Regions from separate parts of the Homo sapiens genome. Here region 1 is linked to region 2. Evidence: promoter capture Hi-C in human tissues and cell types (Jung and others, 2019). All regions are on one chromosome and are shown on one strand. Each heading gives the region's core, a stretch centred on a gene start or on the middle of the fragment in contact. The rest is flanking DNA. Distances are from core to core; before and after follow the strand shown.

Region 1 (6,170 bases), core at 273-2,772, 140 kb after region 2:
ACACAGCTATCTGGGGCAGGTCTTCTCATCACCTTGGATTAGAACACCGGCTTGCTTTTGAGCCACTTCCCACTTAGCCCTGGGGTAAGTTACTTCACTTCTCTAGGCCTCAGTTTTCTTATCTCTAAAATGGAAGGAATAATAATGGGGTGTTGTGATGCTCTGATGAGTCAATGTGTGTGAGTGCCTGGCACATGGCCTATCAGTGTTCACCATTAAAGTTACTATCATTTAGAATGATCTTTTGGGTACTTCCTGGCTTGTAGTGACAGTATACGCAATGGTTAAGAACATGGACTTTTGAGAGAATGAAGCCTGCATTTTACCACTTACAACATGTGTAGATGTTGGCTACATTTTTTTTTTTTTTTCTGAGATGGGGTCTTACTCTGTCGCCCAGGCTGGAGTGCAGTGGCACATTCAAGACTCACTGCAGCCTCGACCTCCTGGGCTCGAGATATCCTCCTGCCTCAGCCTCTGGAGTAGCTGAGATGACAGGTGTGTGCCACCACGCCTGGCATAATTTTTGTATTTTTAGTAGAGATGGGGTTTCTCCATGTTGCCCAGGCTGGCCTTGAACTCCTGATCTCAAGCAATCCACCTGCCTCGGCTTCCCAAAGTGCTGGGATTACAGGCCTGAGCCTCTGTGCCCAGCCAACCTTGGGTGCATTTGTCCTCCTCAGCTTGTATCCCCAAGTGTAAAATGGAGATAGTAGGCCAGGAGCGGTGGCTCACGCCTGTAATCTCAACACTTTGGGAGGCTGAGGCAGGCAGGTTGTTTGAGCCCAGGAGTTCAAGATCAGCCTGGGCAACCTGGAGAAACCCAGTCTCTACTAAAAAAAAAGAAATGGAGGTAGTAATCACTTTCTCGCTGGACAGCTTTGAGGGTGAAATTAAATGACTGGGTATAAAGTGTTTCACACAGCTCTTGACTTCTAATCATCCCTTTTCATATACCAGTTATTTTCCTGTTTTCATTTTCCTGTTTTCGCCCAGAGAGGAAAGGGTCTGGCTGAGACCTTTAACCTCTGCCCTCCACCCCATAGCAAAGTTGTGGGGGGGTGGCGGTACACTTCCCTCAGTCTCTGGGCAGGTGTCTGACTCAGTTCAGGGCACCCCTTCCCCTTGTCCAGCTCCCCAAACCGGTCAGGGCCCTTCTGAAGGGCTCATTAGAGGGGAGACGTCCCCATCTCCATTCCTGCCTTCCTTTCTGAACTCCCAAGGTCTGGACATTAGAGAGGCTCCCATACAGAGGTGGCCAAGACTCCTCCAGGGGGGCAGGAATGAGGGGCTCGAGGGAGACTGGGAGGTCGCGATGCTGAGTTCCACGAGGGTGGGGCCGGGCCGGGGCCGGTGGGGCCGGGATGGCCGGATGCCGAGGCCACGGGTGGGGCAAGCCCGTGGCTCCCTCCTCCCTCGGGAGCTGTTGGACCTGTTGTCCCCCCTCCACTTCCGGGCTGCTGGGGAGGGGGACCGGGCGGCCTCTCTCCTCCCTCTTCCCCTGCCACCTGTCTCATAGGCAGAAGCGGCCGTGCCCAGCGCGCAGAGCGGAGCGCGCCGAAGCCTGAGCTCGTGAGGGGGCCGAGGCTGTGGGGAGGTGGCAGTTGGACTTCGGAATCTCAAGGACTCCGACTCCTGGCTTGTTCAGAGAAGGAGAGCCCCGACTCCTGGATCCCTGGGTGAGGCGGCGTGGGCACGGTTGCCCTGCACAGTGGGGTCGGGACTAAGACTACGGGGCTCCGGGAAGGATGGGGCGGGAGCCGAACTGCTGAGTCTCGGAGGGAGAAGATGGGTCGCTCTAAGCGAATCCAAGAGATTGTAGGGGGCTGCTGGGAGGGTACAAGGCCTGACACCTAGAGATGAGGGAGGGGAGGCGGGGTCGAAGAGGTCAGTAGGGGGCGTGCTACGACCCGGACTCAAATTCCGGTCCCGTCTCCGGTGGCGTGTCGCCTTGGAGCCATCAAGCCCCGCCTCTGGAAACTTCAGGACACGCCTCCGTAACGCTCAGTTCCATCCTTTGAACTCTTAGGCCCCGCCTCCTTGGGGGGGGGTCTCCGCGCCCCGGAGCAGACGCGAGCGGCGCTCAGCCGTCCTAGGCCCCGCCCCCGGAGCTTCTGGTCCCGCCCACCCCGCAGGAGTCCCAGCGGCCATGGGGACGCGAAGCAGCCCCGAGGAGGGGACCCCGCCGCCGCTGGTCCCGGAATGCGACGTGGAGGTCCAGCCCCAGGGCCATCCCGAGGAGTCCCGGGAACAGGAGGCATCCGAAGTCCTGGCGGAACCTTCGAGCCGCGGGGGAGCTGAGCAGCAGGCAGAGGAAGAAGAAGTGGGAGAAGGCAGCAGCACTGAGAGCAGCCGCGACGCGGTGAGGGGCCCGAGGGCGACAGCGCGGGGGGCTTGGACCGACGGGGACCCAAACAGGTGGCCAGACAGGTAGACAGGTAGAGGGAAACCAGAAAGACAGAGACCCGGAGACAGGGAGAGAGACCGAGTGATAGCAGAGACTACTGAGAGAGAGATACACCAGGACACGGAGCCAGAGAGGCAGAGGCACAGACAGACAGAAACCAGATACAGAGACAGAAACCAGATAGAGCCACGGGGAGGCCCCAAGAACGGAGATAGACCCAAACGGGCGACAGAGACAGAGAGACTAGTATAGAGGAACCAGATAGGTGGCTCACGCCTGTAATCCCAGCACTTGGGGAGGCCGAGGGGAGGATTGCTTAAGCCCAGGAGTTCGAGACAAGTCTGGGCAACATAGCAAATCCCTGTCTCTAGAGAAAAAAAAAATACAAAAATTGTCCAAGCGCAGTGCCGCGTGCCTGTAATCCCAGCTACTCGGGAGGCTGAGGCAGGAGGATCGCTTGAGCCCAGGAGTTGTAGGCTGCGGTGAACTATGACTGCGCCACTGCACCCCAGCCTGGGACAAAGCAGAACCTATCTCTAAAAATGAGAGAGAGAGAGAGAGAGAGAGAGAGAGAGAGAGACCAGATAGACAGACAGGAGAGACTACAGAACAGAGAGAACCAAACGAGTAAGAGATGCAGAGAGATCAAGAAGCCAGACAGAGACCCAGAGACATGGAGACTGAGAGACAAAGACCCCAAAAAGACAGAGACACAGTGAGACTAGAGTCAGAGAGAGGGGAATCGAGACAGAGGGAAACCCAGAAATAAATGGCAGAGATGCTCAGAGAAACAAATAGACAAAAACCTCGAGAGAGGGACATACTCCGAGGAAGAAAGATCTAGTGATTCTAGTGGACAGATCTAGTGGACAGATACCGAATCTGAGAGACTGGGGTCAGGTGGAGAGACAGAGACAGATCCAGGCACTACAAGAAAGTGACGCCAAGAGAATAGGACCTGATAGAGAAAAAGAAACACCTTTCATAAGTCGGCTTTACACCTGCTCACCCTCCATACGGTACTGCAAGCCTCTGTGGTCCGTGTGGTTGGGTGGTCACGGGACTTGCACCCTCCCCCACTCCGACCTTAAATACAGGGGTCTGAGGCCGGGCGCGGTGGCTTATGCCTGTAATCGTAGCACTTTGGGAGGCCGAGGTGGGAGAATCCCTTGAGCCTAGGAGTTTGAGACCAGCCTGGGCAACATAGCATCGCCCCCTCTCTGCCAAAAAAAAAAAAAAAAAAAAAGAGCTTGGCGTGGCGGTGCGCGCCTGTAGTCACAGCTACCTAGGAGGATGAGGCAGAAGAATCGCTTGAGCGAGGGAGGTCGATGCTGCAGTGAGCCGTAATCGCGCCACTGCACTCCAGCCAGTGAGACCCTATCTCAGGACAAAAAAAAAAAAAAGATAAGAAAGAAAAAGAAAAGAGCCTGCGACAGATTATGGGAGTGGTGGTTGTGTTAGGTAAGTGGACTGATGGACTGAGACCCGCAGAGGGTGATGTTGGGTGGGGACCAGACCTACTTAGTGATTGCAGGGGGCGAGGCATCTCCACTTAACCACGCCCCCCTCAACTTCAGCCCGAGGCTACGCCTCCGATAGCTATGGCGGCCACACCTCCCGCATCCACCTCTTCGCGGGAAGGGGTGCGAGGGGCGGCGCGGCGCCTGCAAGGACAGCAGCTGGAGGCATTGACTCGTGTGGCCCTGATGGAGCAGCGAGTGAAGGAGCTACAGCGCCAGAGGAAGGAGCTGAGGATCGAGGTGAGGCTGCGGACCCCTTGGGAAGCCTGGCCCCAACTCAAGCGGAACCCGCAAAGCCGGACTCCCAGCTTTTTCCTCGGGTGGGATCAGATTTTAGGCCCTCCGCTCTTCCTCCCTCCAAATTCAGGTCCCTGGAGTCCATCCTCCCTTCGAATCCGGTAGTTCAGGCCCTGGGCCTCTTCCTTGGACCTAGGCGTCCGAGCCCCCAGCCCTGGCATTCTCTCCGCAGATGGAGGTGGAGGTGGCCTTGCTGCGGGGTGAGCTGGCTGGGGAGCGAGTGGCCGCTCGCCGGGAGGAGGAGCAGCTGCGGGAGCTGCTGGAGCAGCAGGCGGCCTCGGAGCAGCGCGGCCGCCAGCAGCGGGAACAGGTCTGTTTGGCTCACCGGGTCTTCATCAGCAGTGTCCTTCCTGGTCCATGGATGTTGGTGTGCTCCTAGCCACCTGCGCCCCGGGGTTGTCCCCATTCCCCAAAGGAAGACATTTGGGCTCCTGAGAGAGTGAGGGGCAGATGCCCCTCCTGGTTTTCCTTCTCCCTCCCTGGGCGAGATTTTTGGGGCTCTTCCTTTGTCCCCTGTCCGTTTGCTATTTAAATGTGGGTGTGTAAAAACTTCCAAACTGGCCGGAAGCAGTGGCTCACGCCTGTAATCATAGCACTTTGGGAGGCCGAGGCGGGCGGATTGCCTGAGCTCAGGAGTTTGAGACCAGCCTGGGCAACATGGCGAAACCCCGTCTCTGCTTAAAAATACAAAAATTAGCAGGGCGTGGTGGCGGGCGCCTGTAGTCCCAGCTACTTGGGAGGCTGAGGCAGGAGAATCGCTTGAATCCGGGAGATGGAGGTTGCAGTGAGCCAAGATCGCACCATTGCACTCCAGCAGCCTGCGTGACAAGAAGGAGACTCCGTCTCAAAAAAAAAAAAAAAAAAAAAAGAGAAAAAGAAAACTTCCAAACCCACCCCACAATAGTCAGGCAGCTCCCATGTCCTGTGCCCACCAGCTTCATCAATGATTAATATTCTTACATTCTTGTTTCATTATCTCCAATTTGTTCTCGTCCCCAGTTTTAAAAGCCAATCCCAGACATCATATGGTCTGTACATATGTTTAGAGTGTATCATTGACAGATAAGAAATCCTTTTAGGCTGGGCCAAGTGGCTCACACCTGTAATCCCAGTACTTGCGGGGTGGGGGGGGGGTACGGGGGGCGGGGCAAAGTGGGAGGATCGCTTGAGGCCAAGACTATGAGACCAGCCTGGCAATATTATAATAAGACACCGTTTCTGTGAAAAATAAAAATACAAAAATTAACCAGGCATGGTGGCATGTGCCTGTGGCCTCAGACTCAGAAGAGTGAGGTGGGAGGATCAATTGAGCCCAGAAGGTAGAGGCTGCAGTGAGCTGTGATTATAACATTGCACTCCAACCTGGGCGATAGAGCAAGACCCTGTCTCAAAAATAAAAAATTAATAAGTTCTTAGTATTGTCTTATTTCTGGTTAGTTTTTGTGTTTCCCAGACAGTCTCAAAATGCCAGTTAACAGGTGGCTTGTTTGAATGAAGTCCCCAAAGTTCAGTGTGATTGGCTGATACGTCTTGCCCATTGTTTTATCTCTGGTGGTTCCTACCCGCTGTGTCTTCCCCATACTGTTTATTGGAAAAATCCAGTCTTCTGTCCTATAGGCAGAGCATGGCTGATCGCATGCCTGTGGTGCCCTTGAACATGCCTCTGTTTCTGCAAGTGGGTGTTGGTTAGAGGGAGAGGTTTGATCGTATTCAGAAGTGCTTTAGTGCTTCCTGAGCCAGTGTTGGGAACCTCATCTCTGGTTGTCCCGACCTAATAAGATCACCCTAGTCTCTTTTTTTTTGCGAGACACAGTTTCGCTCTTGTTGCCCAGGCTGGAGTGCAATGGCGTGATCTTGGCTCACCGTAACCTCTGCCTCCCAGGTTCAAGCGATTCTCCTGTCTTAGCCTCCCCAGTAGCTGGGATTACAGGCATGCACCACCATGC
Region 2 (6,484 bases), core at 40-2,539:
AAATTAGCTAGGCATGGTGGCGGGCGCCTGTAATCTCAGCTACTCGGGAGGCTGAGGCAGGAGAATCACTGGAACCTGGGAGGCAGAGGTTGCAGTGAGTCGAGATCGTGCCACTGCACTCCAGCCTGGGCAACAGAGCGAGACTCCGTCTGGGCGGGGAGGGGGGAGGGGGGAAGGAAAGATGTTCATAATTGGCACTTCTGGACCTCAGTTTGCCTGACAAATGGGCATGAGAGAGGTCGAGGCCTTCTTTCCATGGTTTCTCACTCTTTCTGGGTCCCATAGGTAATGATCCCGCATCAGGTCTACAGGGTGTCACAGAAGTGGGCTCAGGGAAACCCACTCCCAGGAGGGAGAAGGGACCTAAGTCTGGAGGGGTGAGTCACCCTCAAAGATGGGGAGAGAGGAAGGGCAGAGGCAAATACATGCAGAGAGAGGGAGAGAGGCTGGGGCAGGGAGACAGCAGGGAGGAGAGGGGACGCCAGGGCTTGGAAGGTGTTCACAGGAGCCTCTCCCTCCTGGGACCCAGGATTCAGGCTTCCTTCCAGTTAGTTCACTTTCAGGGGGCCCCTCCCGGAGAATGACGCGGAAACACGGGGTTTTCAGGTCAGGACAGGAGAGAGGGAGGGAGGGAACTGACCCCACCCCACTCCTGAGCCCCAGCCTCGCCCTGCCCTGGGAGATCCTTGACCTGCCTCGACCTCCGGACCCTCCGGACCTCCAGCTGCAGCCTCCCCTGTCCCGGTGGCTCAGCTCACAGCCTCTCGCTAGACTCCAGACACCCACCTGCCCGCAGCACGCCTCTCACACTCACCTTTCCCACGTCGCACTCCCTCCCTTACGCTCCCCCGTCACGCTGGCCACGCTCTCCCTTCGCACACACCGCACCCCACGACGCCCGCGCCCCCACCCTCGCACAGCCTCCAGCAACACCCTGCCACCCTCCCCTCCGCGCAGCGCAAGCACCCTGCATGCCAGCAACTCCGCACCCTCGCGCGCAGCACCTGGGCCCGCACGCAGCACCCTCACCCAACACCCTCCATTTCCCGCGCTCACCGAGATCCCCCACCTGCTCCCACGCCGCTGTCGCCCTCCCGCGCACCCCTTCCCGCCCTCCTCACCCCTCTCCTCTCCAGCTTTCGCACCCCGCACCGTTCCCCCACCGTGCCGTCCCCCCGATTGTCTCCGGGCCTCTCCTCCGTCTCCCCCTCCCCTCCCCGGCCCCGCCCCGGCCTCGGCGCCCCGCCCCCGGGCGGGCAGGGGGCGGGGCGCGGGGGGCGGGGCGGGCGGCGCGGGCGGTGCAGGTGCCGGGCCGGGAGCGAGCGGCGGCGGCGGCGGCGGCGGCACCATGGGCCGGGCCCGGCGCTTCCAGTGGCCGCTGCTGCTGCTGTGGGCGGCCGCGGCGGGGCCAGGTAGGGTCGGGGGCCGGGGTCGGCCGGCCGGGCTGGGGCGGGGGGCGCGCTGTGGTGACAGCCCGGCAGCCTCGGGGCCGCAGAGGCCGAACAATGCGCGCGGGGCCGGGCCGGGCCCCCTCCCCGGGACAAAGCGCAGCGCGGGCCGGGAGCCGGGAGCGACGAGCGGGGGAGGGGGCGCGGGGCCCGGCCGCCGTGCCGCAGCCCCCCCACCCGCGCAGGCTGGATCCCGGCGGGGACAAAGGGCCCGAGACCCCCCTACACACACAAGTCCGCCCTCCCCAGGCCGGTCCCGCTGTCCTTCTGTCCAGTCTCTGCGTCCCTCTGTCCGCCCGTCTCTGAACCCCCCCGTCTGGCTCCTCGTCCCCCTACCCTTGTCCTCTATCCCTCAGTCTCGAAGTCCTGTCCCTCCTTCTGTCTGTCTCCCTCTCTTCTTGCCTCGGTGTTCCTCATCTATTCTGTCTTTGTCCCCTACCTCTGTCCCCTGGTCTCTGTCCCCTTTTCCTGGGTCACTCTGTCCCCTCCATCATCCTGTCTATTCTCTTTCCCCCGGATTTCTGCCCTCCCTCTCTGCCCCTATTCTTGGTCCCTGTCTCTGTCTCGCTGTCACCCTTGTTTTTCTGTCCCTTTTTCTCTGTCCCCTATCTGCCCCATCCCCTTGTCTCTGTCCCCTGTCTTTCTGTCACTCGTTTCTCTAACCCTTTCTGTCACCTGTCTCTTTCCCCCTTCTCTGTCCCACTATCTCCATCCCTGTCTTTCTGCTGTGCCTCCTCTCTCTACGCTTACAGCCTCCATCCCGGGATCTCCCATTCCCATCCTACCTTCCTCCCTCTCTCTATCCCTCTGTGCCCCTGAAGAGGAATTCAGTCAGGCAGGGCATTCTAAAGAGCCCTGGAGGGGAACATCTGTGTGCATGTGTGTGGGGAAGTGAGAATGGGGGACCTTGGCGTGTAGGCACACACGTGGATTCAGCGAATGCCTCTCCAAACCCTGCTCACCCATTCACACACCCAGGCTTGACTCACAGAGAAGCCCCTGTCCAGGACATCCAGGGAGCCATCCACATACCCTCATCACACACTGTGAGAAGCTGGAGACCCCCGAGGTTGGGTGACCCTGAGAATGGGGACAAGGTCAGGAAATGTCACCCACACACACTCTCACACTGTGTAAGTCTTGAACCTGCCACGGGTCACCCCTCCCTGGTGGATAAGGCCACTTTTGGAAGGAACAGAGGATTGGAAGGTGGCTAGGCAGAAGCAGGAGGGCTGGGTGTTCGGCAGAGATTGGTGAGAGGAGTTATAACCAGGTGGCATGGGGCTGGCGGCCTGGGCTTAAATCTTGGCTCTTGCCATTTGCCATCGCAGCCAATGGTAAACACCTTCCTCTCTCCAGGCTTCTGTTTCTCTTTCTGTAAAGTGAGGATGTTGAACTCAGTGACATGAAAGGGAACGCCAGCTCAGACCGTGAAGGGGTTTCTGGCAAGTTGAGTGCGGTTACATGTTCCCCACTCCAGGGTTTGAGGCAGAGCCATCCTCACCTCGGCCAGGATGAGGGGCAAAGCTGTCCTCTCACTGTCTTTCTTTCTTCTCTAGTCTTCTGTGACTGCTTTAGAACTTGCATCATTACCTCCTTTCTTTACAACAGACATGCCACAATTTCCCAGATGAGAACTTTGGTACCTCAGTGACATTTCCATCAATTTTAATTTATCTTTATTTTTTAGGCTAAACACCAGGCTCATAGAATCCTGGAACTAATGAATCCAGTAAATAAAGAACCTGATGGTACTTTAGAATGCTGACATCTACAGGATTCTAGAATCCAGAAGGCTTTAGAATCTTGACACCTTTAAAGTTCTAGAACCGTGATGGTGTTAGCATGCTAGCATCTTGACGTCTTAAAAATCGTGAAATCTTGATGTCTTGGAGTTCCTGGATCTTGACATCTATGACATTTAGAATCCTGACAGCTTAGAATCATCAGACTTTGAATTCTCAGGATCAGAATATAGCTTAAGGTGACCACCCGCCCCGTGCAAAAGCCTTTCTCTGGTGCTTCTGGGAGTTAGGTCTACAGCCCTGTCCCTCGTTTGATTTCCAAGTCACTGCTTCCTGGCACCCTAACCCTCTCTGTAAACTTTCTCTAAAGTAAATAGTATGTGGCTTTTACCAGTAGAAACTGAGCTTGGTGTCATGGGAAGAGCTCTCAGCTGGGAGCTAAGGAACTTGGGTCCAAGCCTTACCCAGGACCCTTTAGTATAATTTTGCATCAGTCCTTGTCCCTCTCTGGGCCTTACTTTCCCGTTCTGTAAAGCATGGGGTAGGAGGCTGTAGCATGTGGTCTTGGAGGGCCCTTCCTGCTCTCCTTTCCATTGGATATTTCTCAGTGGCCTTGGCTACCACATTTTAGGGGGTATCTGTTGTTCCCACATTTCTCTCTTAGTCACTTCTTCCTCTCTCACCTTGCCCAGCCAGCAGGAATCGGGGGAGATGGGGTGCATTTGCGCCATTTTAAAAACATGTTCTCTCTCTCCTGGTTCATTCATCTTCTGAGCATAGCAGAAGAAGATGAGATTTATGCCCAAAGAAGGATCCAGGGTGGGCAGAGGAGAGAAAGCAAGAGGGAGGGATGGGTTGCCTGCCCAGGGATGCACCCAGGCAGAAATGGGACCCGCAGCCAGAAACTGGGTAGAACAGAAAGGAGGAGAGGAAACAGATATCCAATACAAAGAAAGAATAGAGAGGCTATTAGGAGTTGAGGGGTCTTGTGGAGGGGGCAGTTGTTGGTCCCTAAATAATGTTTCCTTCCCAGGGTGACTCACTTTTTCCTGCTAAAATTCTGACCAGCCACTCTTGAGAATAGGGGGACCCTCCCTCCATTGTGAGTCACCCCAAGGAACAGGTTTTGGAGGTTTCTATCACTGACCCCCCCACCCACCCACCCATGAGCCAGGCGCCTGTGTCCCCAGAGCCTGGGGGTGGGGGTCAGGTTCTGCAGTGGATTCCAAGACCTTAGACACAGCAGGGCTGGGGCCTAAGGCTGGGTTAATGTCGTGCGAGCCTGGCCTGTCCCCATCTTGGAGAACACAAAGGCAGCTTTCTCTCTCTGGGAGGGGTGGGGGGTGGCCTGGAGACAGTCAGACCCGCCAGCATCCAATGGCCTGTGGCATCAGAACGGAAGCACCCACTGATTTCCGCCTGTGCAGACCCCAGGCCCATAGGGAGCAGGCACGCAGGCTCCTCCGTGGGCACCCAGTGGGGCAAGGGGCAGGTGCTGAGCCTGGGCTCTTCTGGGAAGAGGGGGTGAATAGAGGGCACTGGGCGTGGAGGTTCGGACAGAGGGAGCTCAGTGCAGGCCTGCACCCTTCCCGGAGCAGGAATTCCTCTCGTACCCCACACCCAGGGAGGACCTCTGGGGGACTCCCCACTCCCTGGCTGGGCCTGAGGCCTGGAATCCAGGGAGTCCCGAATATCCCAGGAATGTGGGGGCCACAGCGGGGACTTTGTGTGTGAGGTTGCTGACTCACCCCTACGCCCCCACCTGATGCCTAGGTCCCCAGATGGGAGGGGACAGAGGATTGAGGAAAGGCAGGACTGTGCTTCTAGGGGTTGAGGACTGGGGAGTTAGAGTCAAAAGTTTTCAGGAGAGGAGGGGCTGGATCTGATGGAGGAGGGGCTGGGGGCCTGGACTCCTGGGTCTGATGGAGGAGGGTCTGGGGGCCTGGACTAATGGGTCTAAAGGAGGAGGGAGCTAGGGTCTTAGACTCCTGGGTCTCAAGGAGGAGGGGGCTGAGGTCTTAGGCTCCTGGGTCCAGGGAGGAGGGGGCTGGGGTCTTAGACTCCTGAGTCTGAGGGAGGAGGGGCTGGGGTCTTAGACTCCTGAGTCTGAGGGAGGAGGGGCTGGGGTCTTAGACTCCTGGGTCTGAGGGAGGAGGGGCCTGGGATCTTAGACTCCTGAGTCTGAGGGAGGAGGGGCCTGGGGTCTTAGACTCCTGAGTCTGAGGGAGGAGGGGCCTGGGATCTTAGACTCCTGAGTCTGAGGGAGGAGGGGCCTGGGATCTTAGACTCCTGAGTTTGAGGGAGGAGGAGGCTGGGGTCTTAGACCCCTGGGTTTAAGAGAGGAGAGGGCCGAGGGCTGGAACTCCTGTGTCCGGAAGGAAAAGGGGGCTGGGAGTCCACACTCCTAGGTCTTGAGGGAGGAAGGGATGAGGATACAGACTCCTGGGTCCTGAGGGAGGAAGGGGCTGGAGGCGGGGGATTCCACTGCAGGTTTCTGAGGGAGGAGGGGCTGAGACCCTGACGCCTAGGTCCTGCGAATACAGGCGCCTTCACAAGGCTGAGCTGGGGAAGAATTGACGCTTTGTGCGAGGATGTTCGGACTCCGCCATTGATGGGGGGCTGAGGGGGGTTCAGTCAGGACGCAGGGATGTACCACCTCCCTAAGGGAGGAAGGGGGAAGGAGGCAGGATGCCAGGAGCCCCCTGGGGAGCGGATACAGAGGGGGTGGTGGTGACCTTCCCGGAACTATGACCTTGAGACTCCCTTGGGTATTCGCTGACTCAGGACCCAGGAAGCGCTCCCCCCACCCTGCTTAGTCTCCGTGGAAACATCCACCAGCTGTGTACTCTGGACCCCTGGCTCCTGGGTCCTGAAGGAGGAGGGGGCTGGAGGCCCAGACTCCTGTGTCTAAGCTAGGAGAGGGCTGGGGGCTCTGACTCCTAGGTTTGAAGGAAGGGGCTGCTGACAGCCCAGACTCCTGGGTCCTGATCGAGAAGGGGGCTAGGGGTCTGGATTTCGGGAACCTGAGAGAGGAGGTGGTTGGGGGCTGAATTCCTGGGTCTAAGGCGGAAAGAAGCCGGGGTTCCAGACTCCTGGAACCTGATGGAGGAGGGGCTGGGAGCCTAGACTCCTGGGTCCTGGGAGAGGAGGTAGTTGGGGGCTGGATTCCTGGGTCTTACGCATTACCTGCTCCGCCACTCTTTCCCAAACCCTCCCTGTCCCCTTTTCCAAGCACCATCCCCATGACGACTCCTGGCTGTCAACACAGTTTAAAGGGCCAGTGCCTCAGTC

What was found. Contacts are between HindIII fragments. The study calls those that stand out against the background at their distance.
Region 1: the fragment with the promoter of PHLDB3 here is called in contact with the fragment with the promoter of CADM4 in region 2 in 8 of the 25 tissues and cell types used here (IMR-90 fibroblasts, adrenal gland, aorta and 5 more).

The regions. Positions count from the first base shown.
Region 1 is chr19:43,500,098-43,506,267 of GRCh38, reverse strand. It overlaps PHLDB3 (pleckstrin homology like domain family B member 3), which reads left to right and starts at 1,522. Exons shown (of 16, transcript NM_198850.4): 1 at 1,522-1,679; 2 at 2,136-2,362; 3 at 3,985-4,167; 4 at 4,397-4,534. The coding sequence starts at 2,150. RefSeq lists silencers at 1,326-1,385, 1,986-2,235 and an enhancer at 1,864-2,386. The HindIII fragment of the contact is 32,375 bases long and covers 1-6,170 here.
Region 2 is chr19:43,634,655-43,641,138 of GRCh38, reverse strand. It overlaps CADM4 (cell adhesion molecule 4), which reads left to right and starts at 1,289. Exons shown (of 9, transcript NM_145296.2): 1 at 1,289-1,412. The coding sequence starts at 1,349. It overlaps LOC105372411 (a long non-coding RNA gene), which reads right to left. Exons shown (of 4, transcript XR_001753942.2): 4 at 6,121-6,484. RefSeq lists a silencer at 1,266-1,405. The HindIII fragment of the contact is 16,381 bases long and covers 1-6,484 here.